4 separate regions of the Homo sapiens genome follow, and regions 2, 3 and 4 are each linked to region 1. The links are contacts of gene promoters, found by promoter capture Hi-C in human tissues and cell types (Jung and others, 2019). All regions are on one chromosome and are shown on one strand. Each heading gives the region's core, a stretch centred on a gene start or on the middle of the fragment in contact. The rest is flanking DNA. Distances are from core to core; before and after follow the strand shown.

Evidence for each region. The method cuts DNA at HindIII sites, captures the fragments that hold promoters and counts their contacts. A contact is called where the count stands out against the background at its distance.
Region 2: a contact is called between the fragment with the promoter of TMOD1 here and the fragment with the promoter of ZNF510 in region 1, in 1 of the 25 tissues and cell types used here (mesenchymal stem cells).
Region 3: a contact is called between a fragment that was not itself captured here and the fragment with the promoter of ZNF510 in region 1, in 1 of the 25 tissues and cell types used here (mesenchymal stem cells).
Region 4: a fragment that was not itself captured here is called in contact with the fragment with the promoter of ZNF510 in region 1 in 3 of the 25 tissues and cell types used here (hippocampus, mesenchymal stem cells and spleen).

What each region holds. Positions count from the first base shown.
Region 1 is chr9:96,775,608-96,780,422 of GRCh38, forward strand. ZNF510 (zinc finger protein 510) reads right to left here and starts at 2,480. Exons shown (of 6, transcript NM_014930.3): 1 at 2,427-2,480; 2 at 393-638. The coding sequence starts at 462. RefSeq lists a silencer at 2,241-2,340. The HindIII fragment of the contact is 14,118 bases long and covers 1-4,815 here.
Region 2 is chr9:97,498,690-97,503,504 of GRCh38, forward strand. It overlaps TMOD1 (tropomodulin 1), which reads left to right and starts at 2,977. Exons shown (of 10, transcript NM_003275.4): 1 at 2,977-3,114. RefSeq lists a silencer at 2,794-3,513. The HindIII fragment of the contact is 3,698 bases long and covers 402-4,099 here.
Region 3 is chr9:97,435,151-97,439,965 of GRCh38, forward strand. It overlaps TDRD7 (tudor domain containing 7), which reads left to right. Exons shown (of 17, transcript NM_014290.3): 5 at 4,095-4,168. Among named protein-coding and RNA genes, the nearest start is that of TDRD7, 25 kb to the left of the region's middle. The HindIII fragment of the contact is 3,324 bases long and covers 665-3,988 here.
Region 4 is chr9:97,395,681-97,400,495 of GRCh38, forward strand. It overlaps LOC286359 (a long non-coding RNA gene), which reads right to left and starts at 1,011. Exons shown (of 6, transcript NR_026847.1): 1 at 817-1,011; 2 at 370-496. RefSeq lists a silencer at 3,615-3,802. The HindIII fragment of the contact is 3,966 bases long and covers 261-4,226 here.

The sequences.
Region 1 (4,815 bases), core at 1,230-3,729:
GTGAACAGCACTGTGCTTTGCTCCAAGCTCTGTCCTGAGTGACCATGGACAAACTGTTCATCCTAGGTTCAATACTTTTTAAGGTTTTAAGAGTCAGAAATAGAAATCCTTTCCTGTATTATCATTTTTGTGATTCTACAGGTTCAGGATAGAGGCAACCTTAGTAAATTTCTAGATGCTACATGTGATGGATGTTGTGTGAGAGTGACTCAGAATCTGGAAAGAGTGAGGCAAGAATGAAGAAAATGGGGGCTCTATGAGGAGGATTAGAGACAATTTCCTCAGCCCTGGCTGGTTATGCCTTCCTTGGAGACCATGGAGAAAAGCCCTCCAGTAATGTGGCTTTTCCTGTGCAGTCTGACAGTCACCCACGCCTCTCAACCCCAGCTTACCACCTTCTGCAAGTTGGCCCACAGTGTTCAGTGTCACACAATCTGTGATGGCTTCTGGATGTGGCGACATCACCAAGTCTGGTGCTCTCTGGGCAAGGGGATGAAGAAGTGCCGCTGGTTGGGCAAATCAAGACCTGCTCCTTTCTGGGTTCTTCTGCATCTGTTTGGAAGCCCTGGTGAGGAGGTCTCTGTTCTGTCAGAGAGCAGTTCTTCGGTGGGACTCCTGTTCCTGGGGCTCCCTCCTTCCTGCAACATAAAGAGCTGCTTTGCTCCAGAGAAGCTGGGGCTGATGCCTGGGTAACAAATTTATTTTAGTTGAAACTTTCATGGAAAACAGTGTTCTTCACGTCAGCACAACTTCCATTTTGGGCTGGATAATCCTCTGACATAAGGAGTGGTCCTGTGCATTGCAGGATGTTTAAGAGCATTTCTAAACATGCACTAGACACTAGGACACCCCTTCTCCCTGTTGTGACAATCAGAAACGTCTCCAGGCCGGGCGTGGTGGCTCACGCCTGTAATCCCAGGACTGTGGGAGGCCAAGGCAGGTGGATCACCTGAGGTCAGGAGTTCAAGATAAGCCTGGCCAATATGGTGAAACCCCACCTCTACTAAAAATACAAAAAATTAGCTGGGCATGGCCATGCATGCTTGTAATTCCAGCTGAGATTACAAGCTGGGAGGCTGGGGCAGGAGAATCAGTTGAACCTGGGAGGTGGAGGTTGCAGTGAGCCAAGATCACACCACTGCCCTCCAGCCTGGGCGACAGAGAGAAACTCAGTCCCCTCTCCCCCCACCAAAAAAGTCTCCAACATTTCCAAAGTTCCCTAGGGAGCAAAATCCTCCTGGTGAAGAAGTGACCTAAGGCCTTAAACCTGATTCTCTTGGCATTAATTAGAACCCTGCTATCCATGACTACAGCCTCCAATCACATCAACTACTGAGCACTGGAAATGTGGCTAGGACCACATGTTGAAATAACATTTTGGATACACTGAGAAAACCACAGTATGTTCTTAAAATTAATTTCATGTTTTAGATTTTCATGTAGCTACTAGTTTAACATTTAAAATTACGTATGTGACTCATCTTCACTGCCCTAGAATATCAGACTGACTTCTAAAGACAGAGACAGGAGGGACAGCACAGGAGGTGGCAGGGGCCTCAGTCTAACCCAGAGGCTCTGGAGACATCCCAGAAACCCCACAACAAATACACTTGCCACATAGTAAGATTCTGTCCACACTGACTTCACAATCATTGTCCTGGGGTTTTGGGGACAATCACTCAGTGCTGTGAAGGCTGCAATGCTGGGTTAGGTAGGTAGGCCATTACAAACAGCCTGATTCGGGGAGTAAAGTGTTTATGTATTGACATCCTAGCTCTCTCATCCTTTGTGAGCTTGGCTCTATCTTTTCACTCCTCCTTCTTCATTTTTAATGATATAAATAGGGTGGTTGTGAGAATTAAACGAAATACTACATGAAAAGAACAAAGTGTCTTCCAAATATAACGGGAATCAACATTTACATGCTGCTTAGTAACTAGCGCTTAGCTAAATGCTTTACAGGGGATGGCTTACCTCTGAACGACACAAAGCAGTTTTTACTAATATCCTCATTTTCAAACGCTCAAGTGACAGAGCCAAAATTCACGAGGTCCTTCTAGCTCCTAGGCTCGGCCTCTCACCGCAGACCCACGGGCTGTACGCGCTTTGTGGCAGGTTCATGGTCAATACAATAAACGCGCATTCCCCTCCTGAAGCCAGCACCGCGTTTTCCGACGCCTGGCTGCATTCTGGCGCCCATACCTCGGCCCGCACCGAGCATCTTCCAACTAGGACTCAGCCCCACCTAACGCCCCCGGAGCCCGCCCCCACCGGCCCTTCTCAGGCTGAGGTCCCGGGCCGGCCGAGGCACAGGGAGCGACGGCCTGCTTTGGGGGAGTTCCCGGGACGTCGCGTTCCCGCCCCCTGGACACTAGCACATCCCTCCCTGCAGGTCCGCAATCCGCGTGGAGGCCCGGCGCTCTCACCTGAGCTGCGAACCCTCTGCACCAGCAAACACTAACAGGGAGAAGCCGGAAAGTGGGGTTGACTGCACATGCGCAGACGAAAACGCGCATATCCGTTCCCAGCATGCTGCGCGGTAACCCATAACATGCAAGACTACGTTTCACATGCAGTACGGCGCCAGCTGTCAGTGTTTTTTTGTTTGTTTTTCCCCCAAGATTTATGGCGTAATAACATGGACCGTCCTGATAACTGGAGCCCGGGTTCTGTCAGAGCCCCAGAGGTTGTGGGTTAGACTTGATGACATAACAGCAAATGCAGCGTGTGGTTACAGAAAGCAAGAGCCGCGGAAGACGTTTGAAAACAATTGGGAAAATTTGTATACGGACTGGAAATTAGAATTATTAATTAATTGTGGCAGCATTGGGATTATGTAGGTAATCTTGCTTATTCATAAAGAGATGTCTATGTAAGTATTTAGGATTGTATTATGTTTGTAAGTTTTTGGGTTTTTTGGTTTTTTTTTTTTTTTTTGAGACGGAGTCTTACTCTGTCGCCCAGGCTGGAGTGCAGTGGCGCGATCTCGGCTAACTGCAACCTCCGCCTCCCGGGTTCAAGCGATTCTCCTGCCTCAGCCTCCCAAGTAGCTGGGACTACAGGCGCCCGCCACTACGCCCAGCTAATTTTTGTATTTTTAGTAGAGACGGGGTTTCACCATGTTGGCCAGGCTGGTCTCGAACTCCTCACCTCAAGTGATCCGCCTGCCTTGGCCTCCCAAAGTGCTGGGTATACAGGCGTGAGCTACCACTCCCGGCCCGTTTGTAAGTTCTTTTTAAAAAATAATTAGAAATGGGAAGTATGGCAAAATGTTAAGAATATCTACTTCTAGAATATGGACATGCTTATTGACTATGTGTTGGAAAATTTTATAATATAAAGTTGATAAAGGGAAAATTGGGACTGTAATGTTACAAGTGTGCCTTTTAACTTAGAGCTGCCACAAAAATACATAAACAGCTTTGTGAATAAAGCCGTAAAATGTAACAAATACTAGAAAATGGAAACCATTATTAACATAAAAGAATAATATTTGTGATCCTCAGTTTATCTCTGGGGGGAAAAAAAGAAAAAGCAAGTAAGCTGTTCAGCATTACATAATACCTGAAGTACACACAATCCCAACTAAGAAAACCGTTATCCACAAATTATGCATCTCCTAGAGATGAGCTTGCTTAAATCTTATGTGGTATGCTTCTGAAATCAGGAACCAAATTAGGAACCTCTCAGCACAGTATTTTATGACACTCTTTTTAGTAACACACATACACTCACACACACACGGTTGATACTTTCTAACAGGTTATTTTATATGGCAATGATAAGTTTTGATTAGCAAGAAAAAAGATTAATGGCAACAGTAAACTAGTGCAGTATATATGAATCAAGGTATAAAATTTTACTGTTGACACTGAAAAACACTTTAATAGATACTGGAGGAAAAGACTAACATTTGTTTTTAAAAATTCTAATCATCTATGTTTTCTAAGTATATATTTTCTTTTTTTGACATTTATATATTTTGCCTGTTTTCCTAAAGGAACTATTCCAATTTTCATTCTAATAAAAACTTATGGTAATGATCAGAAAAGAATTGAAAATGCATAGCAATATCTCTATATTTACTATGTATACTATCACTAAATATTTAAAAATTTATCCTGGTGCAGTAAAAGTTCAACTATATGAAAAAGAAAGAATGTAGTATGTATCAGCTGGCTTTTAAAGCAGTGGAAAGAGAACCTTCAGTAACCTTGTTAGGACAATGAGATAGGTGCTGGGACAAAGGACATATCCATGGCACTAACATTACAATCAATAATTTTCACAAGGATTCATTCAACAATAAGCAATTAATAATATCAAAGTTTTAAATTTTTAAATTATACATTTCTTAAGTTTTTAAGAGAAACAGGTGTTTTAAAAAGATAAACCCTTTAATTCCTTTCCAAGGAAAGTCTCGCCCTTCACATCTGTCTGAAGGCTGAGACCTTGCCTGGTGCCCAAAGAGCTGCTCTCCGCCAACTTCCAAGTTCGGCGCTGTGTGTGTAGATGCAGCACCACCGCAGCTGATAAATATTTGCAGTGAGGTTTGGTTTGTTTGTTTGTTTTTGAGACCGGGTCTCACTATGTCACCGAGGCTGGAGTGAAGTGGTGCGATCACGGCTTATTGCAGCCTGGACTTCCTAGGCTCAAGTGATCCTCCCACCTCAGCTTCCCAAGTAGCTAAGTTTTGGACCTCCCTCCCTCCCTTCCTCCCTCCCTCCCTCCCTTCCTCCCTCCCTTCCTTTCCCTTTTTCTTTCTCTTTCTTTGTTTTTGTCCATGTTGGTCTCAAACTCTTGGGCTCAGGCGAT
Region 2 (4,815 bases), core at 1,727-4,226, 720 kb after region 1:
AGACCAGCCCGGCCAACATGGCGAAACCCCATCTCCACCAAAAAAATACGAAAACCAGTCAGGCGTGGCGGCGTGCGCCTGCAATCCCAGGCACTCGGCAGGCTGAAGCAGGAGAATCAGGCAGGGAGGTTGCAGTGAGCCGAGATGGCGGCACTACAGTCCAGCCTCCGCTGGGCATCAGAGGGAGACCGTGGAGAGAGAGGGAGAGGGAGAGGGAGACTGTGGGGAGAGGGAGAGGGGGAGGGGGAGGGGGAGGAGTCCATTACTTTTTAAAATAAAGCAATAGATTGTTTCTTGATGTAACCACAAAATTAGTGCTAAGTCAGTGTGACACAAACAAATGAAATGTGAATGAACCCTTCCTCATACCATATTCAAAAGTCAATTCCAGATGGATTGAAAACCTAAACATTGGCCGGGCATGGTGGCTCATGCCTGTAATCCCAGCACTTTGAGGTGGGCGGATCACTTAAGGCCAGGAGTTTGAGACCAGCCTGGGCAACGTGGCAAAACCCTGTCTTTACCAAAAAATTAGCTGGATGTGGTGGTGCACAACTGTAGTTCTAGCTATTCAGGAGGCTGAGGTGGGAGGATCACCTGAGCCTGGGAGGCAGAGGTTGTAGTGAGCCGAGATCGCGCCACTGCACTCCAGCCTGGATGACAGAGACCCTGTCTCAAAAAAAAAAAACAAACAAACAAAAAAAAAAAACAAAAAACTAAACATGAGGCTGGGCACAGTGGCTCGCGCCTGTAATACCAGCACTTTGGGAGGCTGAGGCGGGAGGATTGCTTGAGCATAGGAGTTTCAGACCAGCCTGGGCAATATAGCAAGTCCCCTATCTCTACAAAAAACATTTTTTTAAATAGCTGGGCATGGTGGCTCATGCCTGTAATCCCAGCACTTTGAGGGGCTGATGTGGGGGTTAAGGGGTTGGCTTGAGCCCAGGAGGTTGAGGCTGCAATGAGCCGTGATCACACCACTTTACTCCAGCCTGGCCAACAAAGCGCAAGACTCTATCTCAAAAACAAAAACAAAAACAAACAAACAAAAAACCTAAACATGAAAGGCTAAGGTGGGAAGATAACATAGGAAGATAACTTTATAACCCAGGAACAGGAAAGAGTTCTTAAACAGGACACAGAGTGCTGCCAATAAGGGAAAAGATTGCCAGACTGTATTTAAGAACACCTGTTTATCAAAATACGTTAATAAGGTGAAAAGGCAAAAGAGTGGAATATAACTGAGGATACACACACCATTGAATCTATTCAATACACAGGACTATCCAGAAGAAAAATGGACAATAAATCTGAACAATTCACAAAACAAATCCAACTGGCCAATAAATATGAAGTGATACTCAACACATTAGGATATAGGGAAATGCAAGTTTGAACCTCAATGAGATACCATTACTCACATATCAGAATTTCTAAAGTGTTTCAATTTTTGTAACTTCAAGTGTTGTTGAAGATGGGAAACTGCACTGTACAATGGTACTATAACTTTGGAAGAGTTCAGGCTTATCTCTGCCGAAGTTGAGGTTAGGCTTTCTCTATCACCCAGCACTTCCAACAGCAGGCTGTGCGCGTGGACAGGAGGATTCTGGCAAGGAATGTTCGCAGCAGCACTATTTGTAATAGCTAAAACCTGGAAACAACCTAAATGCCCATTAATAGTCAAATGGATTTTTTTTTAAACTGTGGCATATTCATACAGTGAAAAACTACAGCTGCATAAAACCACAGATTAACAACAGATTTGAACAAATGAAGACATACTACAGAGGGAAGAAAAAAAACAAGGACATGATCACCGTAAGGGTCAAGAAAGTGATCATCTTTAGAAGGGAGTTGGGACCCAGGAGGGACAGGTTGGCTTCTGGGCTGTAGGCAATGTTCTCTGAGTGACTGGTTGCACAGGTGTTCACGTTGTAAAAAGTCATGAAGCTGCACATTTATTTTGTTTACACATACAACATAACTTATGTTGTATGTTCTTATATGTTCGATTCACAACAAAAATGTTTTAAAATAATCTGAAATATTAGATCACTGCTTATTTTTAAATGTATGGCATATACCCCTTGAAAAGAGCGTTCTCATTGTGAGGACTTTAGAGAAATTCATTTTCTTGAGAAACAAAATTTGGTTAATGAGTGTTTCTCATTAATAATCTATACATCAGGATTAAGAGCTGATTTTATTAAGGTCTACCCTACCAAAAGCTTTCCCATAATAATCCAAAATAAGACGTTTTCCTATTTCTATATAAATTCCTTTGCATGAGACATTTGTTTATTAAAACACTTAAAATTGTATTTGGAATAAACCACCTAAAGTGGTTTGTTCTGAAAAAAAAAAAAAAAAAAAAAAGCCTTTTAAGAACTTGGGTCTTTTTGTTGTGGTCATTTAAAATCAGTATTTTAGACACTCCACTCGCTCTCAGTGTAGAGAGAATGTATTCGATTGCGTGTTGGAACTACGTGTAGACAAAACGATCGCGGTTAAAGCTTGCGGCTCAGAGCCCACCTGGCCGCGCTGCTGGGAAACGGACGGAGCGGCGCTTCAATCAGAGGTGAAGGTGCAGCAGCTGCTTAGCTGGCTTTGGTCCATCACTTCTGGGGACTTCAGATTCTCAAAATCTTAAATTCTAAACCCCACAGGAATGCAAATCTGCCCACCTTTTCCCACATAACTCTACCGTCGCTCAAACTCTTCCTGGTACCAGCGGGGAAGCGGAGGAGACCCAGGCAGGGGCCCGCGCTCGCTCGGCTGCAGCCCGACTCCCCTGCGCTCCCGGCCCAGGGCCGCGTCCCGACGGGGAAGTGCGCTGCGCCCGGGCGCCCCCGAGTGGAGGGGGGGGGAAGGAGGGAGCCGGCGGCGGGCGGGGCGGGGCGCGGTGACAGCCGAGCCGGGCCCGCCCCTGGCTCCCACCCCCGAGCCCACAGCTCCCGCCCGCCCGCGGCCGCCCGGGAGCTCGTCCAGCCCCGCGCTGCGCTCGCCCGCCCGCTGCCCGCCGGAGCACCGCGGCCTCCGCCCGCGTCCATCTGCCCGCCGCCCGCGCCTGTTCCGCAGCCCGCGTCCGCGCCGGCCCCACAGCTCTGCGTCCGGGTAAGCCCCCACCCCGCCTGGGGTCCCCCTCGCGCTCGCGGGGCTCCCTGCCCCCGCTCCGGGGCCTCAGCCATATCTGGGCAAAATATTCAGCTGTCGCCGCCGCCGCCAAGAGGGACTGAGCGTGGCTCCCTCTATAAATAGCTGCCGCCTCGGGTTGCCTCTGGGGCTAGGGAGCCCGGGTCTCGGGGTTCCGAGCCCAGCGCTCCCGTCCCCGCCTCCCCGCGCGCGCAGCCCTGGCCAGGGCGCCCTCCGCTCTGGACCTCCGCACCGCGTCTGTGAACGCGAGAAGGACCCGGGGTTCTGGAGGAGACGGCGCCCCGGGCTGGGGTCCTGGCGGAGGGGCGCCCCCGCCACCCGCAGGACTCCAGCGCGGCGGGGCTCTGAGCCCGCGGGGTGCTCAGCTGGGTACAGGTGCCAGCCGGAGCTGGGCTCGGGGGCGCGGCCTCTTCTCCGCCTGCAAGAGTCTGGGGGTGGGAGTGGGGGAGTAAAGGCTCGACTGGACGTGGATCCCAGGTTCGCGCTGAGAGTGTTTGGGGCAGGTGAAGTTTCCCAAACTGGGAGAGACAAGGTTTAAAGCACCACGACACGCGCTACGCGGCCAAGTGGAGCTGGAAAGAGCTTGGAGGCGGGAGCCCCAGGTTGTCGCCGGCTCTCGGCATGGCCTTGGCAATCCCCCTCTTGTTTCTGGATCTCAGTCTCCCATTTGTAGGGGCGAGGTTTGGTAGCCGCGATGGAGCTGGGAGCCCAAGCCCTGAGAGCTGCAGGGCGCGCTCTTGGCCGCCTGCGCTCCCCACACCTGTTCACCCTCTCCGGGCCTGGGACGCTGGGGTCCCAGCCGCGCACATGCGGAGACGCTGCAGAAATCGGAGACTGACTGCCCCAGACTCGATCGTATCCTGGGACTCACTAAGGCCGTCGGATATCCTAAGCCGTACAACCCTAGGAAGTGCACTTTTGGGGTGCCTATGGGCATCTCTCTGCTCCGTAGCCGGCAAAGCAGCCTGTGAGCCACGCAGCTTCAGATGCGATGAGCTGGGCAGGGGCAGTGGTTCCAGTACAGCCGCTCCCTGGCCACAGTTTCCCGGTCTATATCGGGCCTATGATGCGTCCTCCAACCTGCGCAGCGCCGCCCCCTCCTACACCCTTCACCCACCGCTACTATTACAGACCCTGTCTCCAGCCCTCGCCCTATGCCCTCAGACTCTCGGAGACGACCTGGCCCAAGCTCCTCCGTGTCTGAATCGCAGAACCAGACCCTGAACCCAGGTGCTGGGCCCTCAGCGTGAGAACCCCTAGGGCCCCCACCCCATCTTTCTTCCAGAGGTGACTGCCATTTTGTCCTCTGTGCAGGGCCGCAGAGCCCCCTGCTCAAGGTCACACAGGGCCGGTCACGCCAGAAGTTCTGCAGTCTCCCAGCCTTTCCCATCTCTTTCCGCACCCTTCCCACTGCTCAGGCAGGTCCGGGAGCTCTGGGAGCACCCGATCAATGCCCCCTCTTCTTGAATCTGCTGCTGTTCTGGACTTTACCTTGTCTGGACAATAGCGCCCTCATCCTGAAGTTTCCTTTTTGCTTCTACTTTACTTTCTGTTATGTGTTTTTTTCTAAAGCCATCTCAAAGACTTACAGAAAAAAGAATTAACGGGAAATGGAGTCAGATAATAAAGTTTCCATCAGTTAGAGCCACACAACCAACAGGC
Region 3 (4,815 bases), core at 1,077-3,576, 660 kb after region 1:
ACACATCCATATGCAACTGGAAATCTGAATAAGCTCTGAATTGTACTATTGCCAATATTCTGGTTTTGATATGTACTATGCAAGATTTTACTATTAGGGGAAACAGTGAAGGACACATGGGACCTCTAAGTACACTTTTTGAAATTTCCCATGAATTTATAGGTATTTCAGAATAAAAAGTTTTCAAATTGACAGCAGGCCAGGCACCATGGCTCATGCCTGTAATTCCAACACTTTAGGAGGCTGACGCAGGAGGATCTCTTGAGACCAGGAGTACAAGAACAGCCTGGGCAACATGGTGAGACCTCATCTCTACTAAAAAAAAAAAAAAAAAAATTACCTGGACATGGTGGTGTGCACCTGTAGTCTCAGCTGCTTGAGAGATTGAGGTGGGAAGATCACTTGAGCCTGAGAGTTCCAGGGTACAGTGAGTTATAATCACACCACTGCACTCAAGCCTGGGTGACAGGGTAAGACCCTCTTAAAAAAAAAAAGCTACATATTTTAATTAAAGACTGCTTGAGATGTTGTAAAACATTTTAATCAAGTCTTTTTTTAAGCACATAGTATTTGAAAGATATCTTTTAAGAGAAATCTAAATACTACCCAGTGGCAGATGTTATGGGTAACATTTCTAGTTATAAAATCAAAATATCAAAATGGAACAATAGCAGAAACATCTATATCTACTTATGAAATATTAATGTAGTAAAAAGCAGTTAAACCTGTTATGAAGGACACTTAAACTTTTTGAGGTCACCAAACCTCTTGAAAAGCTGATGAAAGCTGTAAATGATCTTCCCAGAAAAATTCACACATGTACATTTACATATGCATACATAATCTCGTGCCAGTCAGTAGATTCATGAACCCCCAAAGCTCATTCTCAAGAGTTCCGGTTAAGAACTCATGCCTGCCTGTTAACAAATTGAAAAGTTCTAGAAAAATGGCATGGCTAGTTTCCTGTAGAATAAATTAGTAGAGATAAAATGTGTGGGGAAGAGGGTATATGTACTAAGGCTCCTATTAAATTGTTCTCTAAACAGATTATAATAATTTGTTTTCTTCTAGAAGAATATGAGAGTGATTATTTTCTTGTATGCCTGCCAATATTGGGCATCTGTTTTTTGCTTTGCTACTTTGAAAAGTGAAAAAAATCTATTTATGTTTTAATTTTTATTTCCCTGATTTTGATTCTTAAGGGAGTTACATTTTTGTCATATATTTTTTAGCCCATTATAGGTCTTATGTGAATTACATGTCTTTGTCCTTTACATAATTTTTCTATTGGCTCTTTTCCTTCTAACATATAAAAGTGGTTTATAAATTAAATAAGTTGGCCCTTTGTAATATCTTGACAGTATTCCCTCAGTTTGTTTAATTATTGTATTTTTTGTATACAAAAACTTTAAAATGTTGCATGCTTATAGCTATCGATCTTTTACTATGTGACTTCTGCTTTTAGGTATTATGTTTAGAAAAGCATTTCCACTCAATATTATGTAATATGTCTTCTGTTTTCTTTTGTAATTGTTGTGGCTTCATTTTTTACATTTTAGTCTTTAATTCATCCAGAATTTATTTTATTTTATAGTGTGAGAGTTGGAATCCTTTTTTATTGTTAGCCAGATGTCCTGTATCAGTCATTACACAATCCTTTCTTTCTCTGCTGGTTTGTAATTCTATCTTTACCAGTACTAAAGCCTTATAAACATATGGTTCAGTTCCTGGGCTTTCCATTCAGAATAATTGATTACCTCCCTATTCTGCAGTACCAGGCTATTCACATTATTATAACTTCATAATAAGTGCTAATAACCTTTACTCTCTACTTCCTCCTCTATCTCCTAATTTGGTTTATTAGTTCCATTGTGTGCTTTTATTATACCTACTGCCCTTATCATAACACTTAGTAGACTTTGTTCTTAGATTTTGTCAATGCATTAATTATCTATTGCTGTGTTACAGATTACCCCAAAGTTATTAGCTTACAACAAGACACATTTTCTTACCTCATAGTTTCTGTGGGTCAGGAAGGAAGACACGGTCAAGCTGGGTCCTCTGCTTCAGGGTCTCTCATGAGGCTGCTGTCAAGGTGTCAGCCATGGCTGGGATCTTATCTGAAGGCTCAGTTAAAGATAAATCTGCTTTCAGTCCTACTCACATGGTTATTGGCACAGTGTACTTCCTTCTGAGTTGTTCATTAGTCCCTAGGTGGCTATTGGCCAAAGGCCATCTTCAGTTTCTTGCCACATGGTTCTTCCCAACATGGCCATTTGCTTCATCAAAGCAACAAAGGAGAGATTATACTAGCAAAGTTGAAATTAGAATCTTCTGTAATCTAGTTATTTGTGATCCCTTCAGCCTTGAAGTCTTCTATTGATTAGAAGCAGGTTACTCAAGGGGAAGGGATTACACAAGGCTGTGAATACCTGGAGGGAAGAATCTTTGGGGTTATCTCAGCAGCTACTTACCACGGTCCGTTTCTCAACTATACCGTGTAGTCCCAGAGAATAGGGCATGTTTATCTTGCTGATCATTGACAGTTACTGTCTGACATAATGTCTGGCACATAGTATGTCTTAAATATTTATGAGCTATAAATATGTCTCTAATAAACAACATATGTTTAGATTTGGAAGGTTTTTTTCTGGACCAGTCTAACTCTTTGTCTTTTAAGAGACAATATATTTTATTCTTAGTGTTATAAAACTGCTTAGACCTCTGTCATCTTATTTTATTATGTCTGTTTTTCATGCATCCTAGCAGTTTTCTTTGAAGAGCTTTCTTTTGCTATATACACTTTTTTCTTTCCTCTCCAGTAGACCTCTTGATGACTGAACCATAACAGTCCCTTCCATAGTTTCTGTGTACTCACTCTTTGCTCATATCCCTCTACCTTCTACTGGAGCCTTCGATGCTTGTTTAAAGCAGGGGAAGCTTCCAGTTTACATGTTTTGGGCTGGTGTGCGGGAAGGAGTACTATCTCCCTACCAGTTCTGCAAAATAGGAGTTGGATATATTTTTGGCATCTTCTGCTATTACACAGATATATTAATATAGAAATAGGATGATCTTATAATTGCATATACCAAATAAGTTTTTATTGGTAGCCTAGAACCTAATCATTTCTTTTAGAATTAAAATTTTATAAGAAAATGTGCTTCATTTCAAGGAATTGATCTAATTTTTAGACTGTTCCATACTATTCAAAAACTGGCAGCTATGTGTACCATGTCACTATCACTCACTATAGTCCCGTACCCACTGCTGGGCAGGTTGTAGTCATTTATTCATTCGGTCATGATTCATTCAGTCATTCTTACAATATTCATTTGCCTTGCATGTATCAAGCTCTGCCCCAGGCACTTGGGAACACAAACAATTAAGACACTTAGAGTCTAGTGTGGGAAACAGACATGAATATAAATGATGTGTGTGGGGTTTATTTATGTGTCTTCATATTTGGAAAAATCTTCCTACATATATCCAGTATAATTTATATAAAATTTATTTTTAGTGAGGGTATGAGGTAGGGATCTATTTCTTTTTTTCAAATAGTTATTTGACCAGTCCCTCACCTGTCTGTTTTGAAATGCCACTTTCATTATGTACCAAGATATAATGCAAATTGCATGTTTCTAAGTTCTCTACCATTTTACCTGTCTGTACAACTCATTTAAGTGTTGTAACTTCATAATGCATTTCAACATCTGGTGATGCAAGTCCTTCATTTTTTGGTTATATTCCAAAATGTTCTTTGTTTCCAACTGTTTATTTTTGCATGGTCTTCTTTATTCTGTTTTACCAGTTTCTTATAAGTGATTAATTGGAATTCTGACATCCAAGTTTTGAAAGAGGCTTTCAAAGACCTAGTTTAAATTTAGCTTTTAACATACTTTTCTCTGAGTGAATATGAAACATGAAAGATGATGCCAGGTTTTATTTTTATTTTTTCTGATTTTAAATTATTTTAATGACTTGTTTTGCTGTTAAATGCCACTGAGACTTTAAATGAAAAGTGTAGTGTTTAAAACTTGGTATAGACTTTGTTATTTACATTTATTTTACTTTTTTTTTTTTTAATATCTTAGGTTTAGCCCAAAGGCGTCCCTTCAACCACCTTTGCAGATGCATCTCTCAAGAACCTCTACTAAGGAAATGAGTGGTATGTTTTCCAAACATTTTTGAGATACATATTGGCTTCCGGAGTCAAGAAACATATCTGGTGGTGGCTTTTGACATTTGCTCTCACCTTCTCCTGTTTGGAATATATCCTTCCTCCCCTTTTTCCTAATTGCTTTGCATCATGAATCAAAGTGATCTTAAGAGAAAATGGTGCCTCCCAAAGATATCATTATCTAAACACTGACTTGAGGCCTTCCTCACCCCAGCCCTACTCTGTGTCACCTCTATGTGTGGCCTGCAGAGATGCTTGTGTCCCTTACTCTCTCACCTCTTAGGGGGTGCACCCCTGAGACTTCAGAGGCTGAGGCCTCACATAAAGGAAACATCTGCTGTGGATTAAAAGTGCATAAATATGGGACTTAAATTTATAAAAGAGTTTCAGATACTCCACCACTTAAAAGCTAGCACCCTAAACTGTGTACAGTTACCACTAATCATCTAAATATGAATATAAATAATTCTTTGGGTAATAGAATCCAAGTGGGCTGTTAGGAAAACAATAGGAGACATAGTATAAGTCAAAGAATCTGAAGGTTAGAAATGCAACCACTTGTTATCTTTTCTTCTCCAACCAATGTGTAAATCCCCTGCTCATAGACCCACCCAGGGAGACAGTGTTTTCGTATC
Region 4 (4,815 bases), core at 994-3,493, 620 kb after region 1:
GCAGGTGGCTAAAAAAACAAAAATAGTAGCAACATGCAAAAATGCTCATGGCCTGGTGTGATATGAAAACAATGAAAAAGTCTTTTCTCTGATATTCCTACAAGTGTGTGAAGTGTCTTTCCACCTTACCAATTTGCAGGTGGAGGAGGAGTGGCAGCCCAGATTTCTGCGGGGTAGAACTGTGGGCCACTCTAGTGGGAAGGCCCTGCTTGAGAGACCCCAGGAGTCCTTGTATACAAAACTGGGTTCTGGACCCGGGCTGTTCATCTCGTGATACTGGCAGTGGAGACACCAGCACCACCACCCTCCCCCATGCCCGCTCTCACTCCAGACCAGTGCTGGTCATTATTGGTGGCATGGTGCACCTACCCCTTGTCTAGGAAGATGGAGGAGTTGAACCCATCAACCAGCTCCTCACTGATCTCTCACATGGAGCTCTGCACAAATGATGCTCGGCAGCCAGATCATCAGACATCAGGGCCCTGCCTGGCCATCACCGCAGCGGGAAACTCACATTAGAAATTCTGCTCCCCAGATAAGGCACAGGTAGGCAACTGCATAGAGGAAATGAGCTGAAGTCTCAGGAGCACAGGATAACATCTGGGGAAATGTCCTTCACCCAGCACTCACCTTCCCATCTTGCCAGGCCCACCAGGGTTCCAACACCCAACAACCTGCTCCAGCCCAGGAAGGGCCCAACGCTCATCCCTTGCCTTCCCTCCACTGCCTCCCTCCACACACACGGCGATGGAGAGGGGTGTGGGGCTGCCCAGGTGGGATCACAGTTGTGGCCTGGCCCGGACTTCTCTGTGTTACCTTTGGGTACTTCCTGCCAAATGGCCAGAGGTGCCAAAAGTGAGTGCTGAGCCAAAAAGCCTGCAGCAATGGAAAAGGCCCTCGTGCCGGGCTTTCCTGGAGTCAGAGCCTCAGAAAGTCGGGATACAGCAGGAGAACATCTTATTCCCTCTAGTGGCTCCCATCGAGTGAGCTGGACAGGGGGTCTCTAGAATGTGAGTGCTGGTTATCAAAGTTCTAAGTTCTGTTGGGGCCTATCACCAAGGAAGTTAGGTCACTTCTCTAAGGTTCCATTACCTCGGCTCCTTCCTTCAAAGAGCTCCCTCCCCAAAGGTCTCTCTGAGCCATTGACTGCTCACCCTCCTCCTCTATGTCATCTCCTTAACTGTTCACAATTTTGCCAACATCCCCCCTCTGGGAAAACCCAAATGCAGCGAGGGCCCTAGGTTTGAGGAGATACAGCTGGGTTCCAACCCTTCTTTTTCTTACCAGTTCTGTGCCCTGGAAAACTCACTGTACCTCTCAGAGCCTCTCCAGTCCCCTAACCTGCACAATGCAAATCATCCCAGCATCTGCTTCCCAGAGACATCATCAGGCATACATGAGATAATTCTCATAACACTCATAGGTTGGTGTCACAAGTAACAAATGCACAAACTCAAGAGAAGGAAGAATTATAAGGATAGATGGGATGCAGCACGGACTTAAACTGAAGACATGCCCGGGTTCCAACAGTGTAATATTGGAAAAGTTACTTCCACTCTGGGCCTCATTTCTCATTCTGCACCATGAGAGAGTTAACATAAAATGAAACTGGTATATGGTCATCCTGTGGCATAAAGCCTTCCAGTGGTTTCCTGTTATATTTAGAATCAGACCTAGGTGTCTCATCCCAGCCTATGTGGTAGTCTGCATGCATGCACAGCAGCTTGCAATGAACCTCACTGCTGGGATTCATGCCCTTGTTTAACCATAAAGTGGTTACTGACTCCCCTTCTGACTAAGAGTATACAGCAAAGTGACGGGTTGTCTCTCCTGTCTGAGTCAGTTAGGGCTGCTATAAGAAAGTGCCACAGACAGGGTGGCTCACCAATAACAGAAATGTATTCCTTGCAGTTCTGGAGGCTGGAAGTCTGAAATCAGGGTATCAGCATGGTCCAGTTTTGCCGAGGTCCCTCTTCAGGGTTGCAGACTGCCAGCTTCTTGTTGTGTCCTCAGATGGTTGAAAAAGGGTGACGGAGCTCCCTGGGGTCCCTTTGAAAAGGGCACTAATCCCATTCATGAGGGCTCCACCTTTATGAGCTAATTATCTCACAAAGTCCCCACCTCCTAATATTATCACATTGGGAATTTGGCTAACAACACATGACTTTTGGGGGACGTAAACATTCAATCCATTGCAACTTCCAATATTTAGTTACAAAAAAAGCACCAATTCCCTCGTACTTGCTGTCTCCTGTGTTTCTCCCTCCCTTTCCTTGTCCTTCTCTGTCCCTCCTCCTCTCGCTGCCTCTGTCACAGTCCTCTAACTGAGGAAGCAAGCTTTCATGTCAGGAGCTACCCGACATAGAGGCCCACATGGCAAAGAACTGGGGAACATCCAGGCCAACAGACAGAAAGGAACTCAGGCTTAGTCCAAACTGGTTCTGCCAATACCTACATGAGTGAGCTTGGGAGCAGCTCTTCCCACAGCCCAGCCTCGGTTGAGACCACAGTCCCAGCTTCATGGGAGACCTTCAGGCAGAGGCACCCAGGTAAGCCATGCCCAGGTTACTGATCCACAGACTGTGAGATATTAAATATTTGTACTTTCACATTGCTAATGTTGTGAGAAGAATGGGTAACTCACCTAGTCTACCAGGCCCCAGGATCTGGCCCTGCCATCATTTCCCTCCTCTCCCATCCTCCCTCCAGGGCTCCCCCAAGCCACACTCCCCAAGCCACACTGGCTCTTTCTCTTCTTTCTTCTTCTTCTTATTTATTTATTTATTTATTTTGAGACAGAGTCTCACTCTGTTGCCCAGGCTGGAGTGCAGAGGCACGATCTCAGCTCACTGCAACCTCCACCTCCCAAGTTTAAGCAATTCTCCTGCCTCAGCCTCCCAAGTAGCTGGGATTACAGGTGTACACTACCACACCTGGCTAATTTTTGTACTTTTAGTAGAAATGGGGTTTCACCATGTTGGCCAGGCTGGCCTCAAACTCCTGAACTCAGGTGATCCACCTGCCTCGGCCTCCCAAAGTGCTGGGATTACAGGCATGAGCCACCACACCCAGCCTACACACTTGCTCTTTCTAACCTCCTCTGCCAAACCCACCTCTGTTTGGGAGTCTCTGCTTCAGTGGTGCCTTCTCCTTGACACATTGTTCCCAAATGTGTGCAGGGCTGGCTCCCTCTGGTCCTTCTGCTCACAGCATAAAAGTAAGGCCCCTCTGAGGCCCACCCAGTGACTTCCCAGGCCCACCTCTCAGCACTCGACTTCATTTTCTCTACAGCACTTGCTCTTTTCTTTCACATGCCTTTGTCCATCTCCCCCTCCAGACTGTGAGCTCCTGGAGAGCAGGGACCACTTGGCTGATCTCAGCACAGCATGCTGGGCCCACTGGGGCACCTGCACAGGGTGAGTGCTCAGGCGTAGTTGCTGCATGAATAAATGGGAGGATCGCAGACTTTCCACCTCCCCACCTTCTGACCAGCTAAGACTGTGGAGATGATCAATGCAAATAAAAGGTGTGAGTCAGACCTGAGGAAGGAGGACGGCAGGCGTGACCTCTGCGTGACTTTTCCCTGGCACCAGTTGCTGGTAAAGCAGAGTAGGCACCGCGGACACAGGAGGCTGACCGCCTCCTGGTGGCCAGCCGTAGCACTGCAGCCCCAGGCCAGAGCGCCTCGACTTAAGTCACACACTCCGGCTGGCTGACCTCAAGGCAGTGGTTTTTTGGGGGTCTCCAGGGGGCAAAGGAGCAGGTCCGCAGGCTCCAAAGGGCAGTGTGAGGAACCTCGGAAGCCTCCCTTGACCCCTTTTTGCCTCCACTTCCTTTGGCGTCAAGCATCCTTATCTCGGCCAGGACAATGCTTCCCCCTACTTCCAAATGCAGACTCAGGATCCAACAAGGATCAGCCTCGTTCCTGGACCACAGACACGGTGTCCGACGCTCTGGCACCCTCTGCCCTATAGCAAGCCCTCATCACCCAAGCCCCAAACCTAACTCTGCTCTGAATGATGTCCAGGGAGTGGAGAGCATTTTCCCAGGGTCTCAGAGCACAATGGGCACTGATGGATAAGCCATATCAACAGACACTTTCTGAGTATGTGGAACCCTTGGGGTCACTCACCCAAGCACCCCAATTAATACAGGAGGAAACGGAGGCTTTCTCTCCCATAGTCTCTGTCCGCACTAGCAGGGAGGGCTCATCCTACTTCCAGGTGCCCAGACCAATGGCCTGAGGACCCCGGCCCTGGCCTCTCAAGGCTGTGCTGGGGCCCTTAGGGAGCCCTATGTCTGCCCTGCTCATGCCCTGGGTTCCTGAGCATGTTGCCGATGCCACTGACTCATAACAGAGCTGCCTCCAACCTCTTTCTTCTTTCCCTCTGGGAGGAGGCTCAGCACTGGCCTAGGAAGCTGGAGCCCTCCCTTACCTTTTAGACTCTGTGCATTTTCTGTGGTCTAAGCCAGGCCCTGTCTCTTTCTGGAATTCGGTTTCCCAAATGCACAATGAGGGGATGGGTGTGAAACTGCCTCAGTGTGCTCAGTGAGGATGCAGCGTCAAGTTCCATCAATACAGGACGGGGTGTCAGGGTGGGGTGGCTCAGGTGCATATGGTGAAGAAGCCTCCCTAACTCGGGCAGATGCTGAGGGACACCACATATAACAGCCAGGCCTAGTGCCCATGGCCAGGCATGCTCAAGGGGCCCTGTGTCTGGACCAAGAAGAGAACATGCTGGTGAGTTCCTCCTTCACTGTGTCCACAAGTGCAGTACACAAGGGAGCCCCAGGCAAGGTTGGTCTCATGCAGCC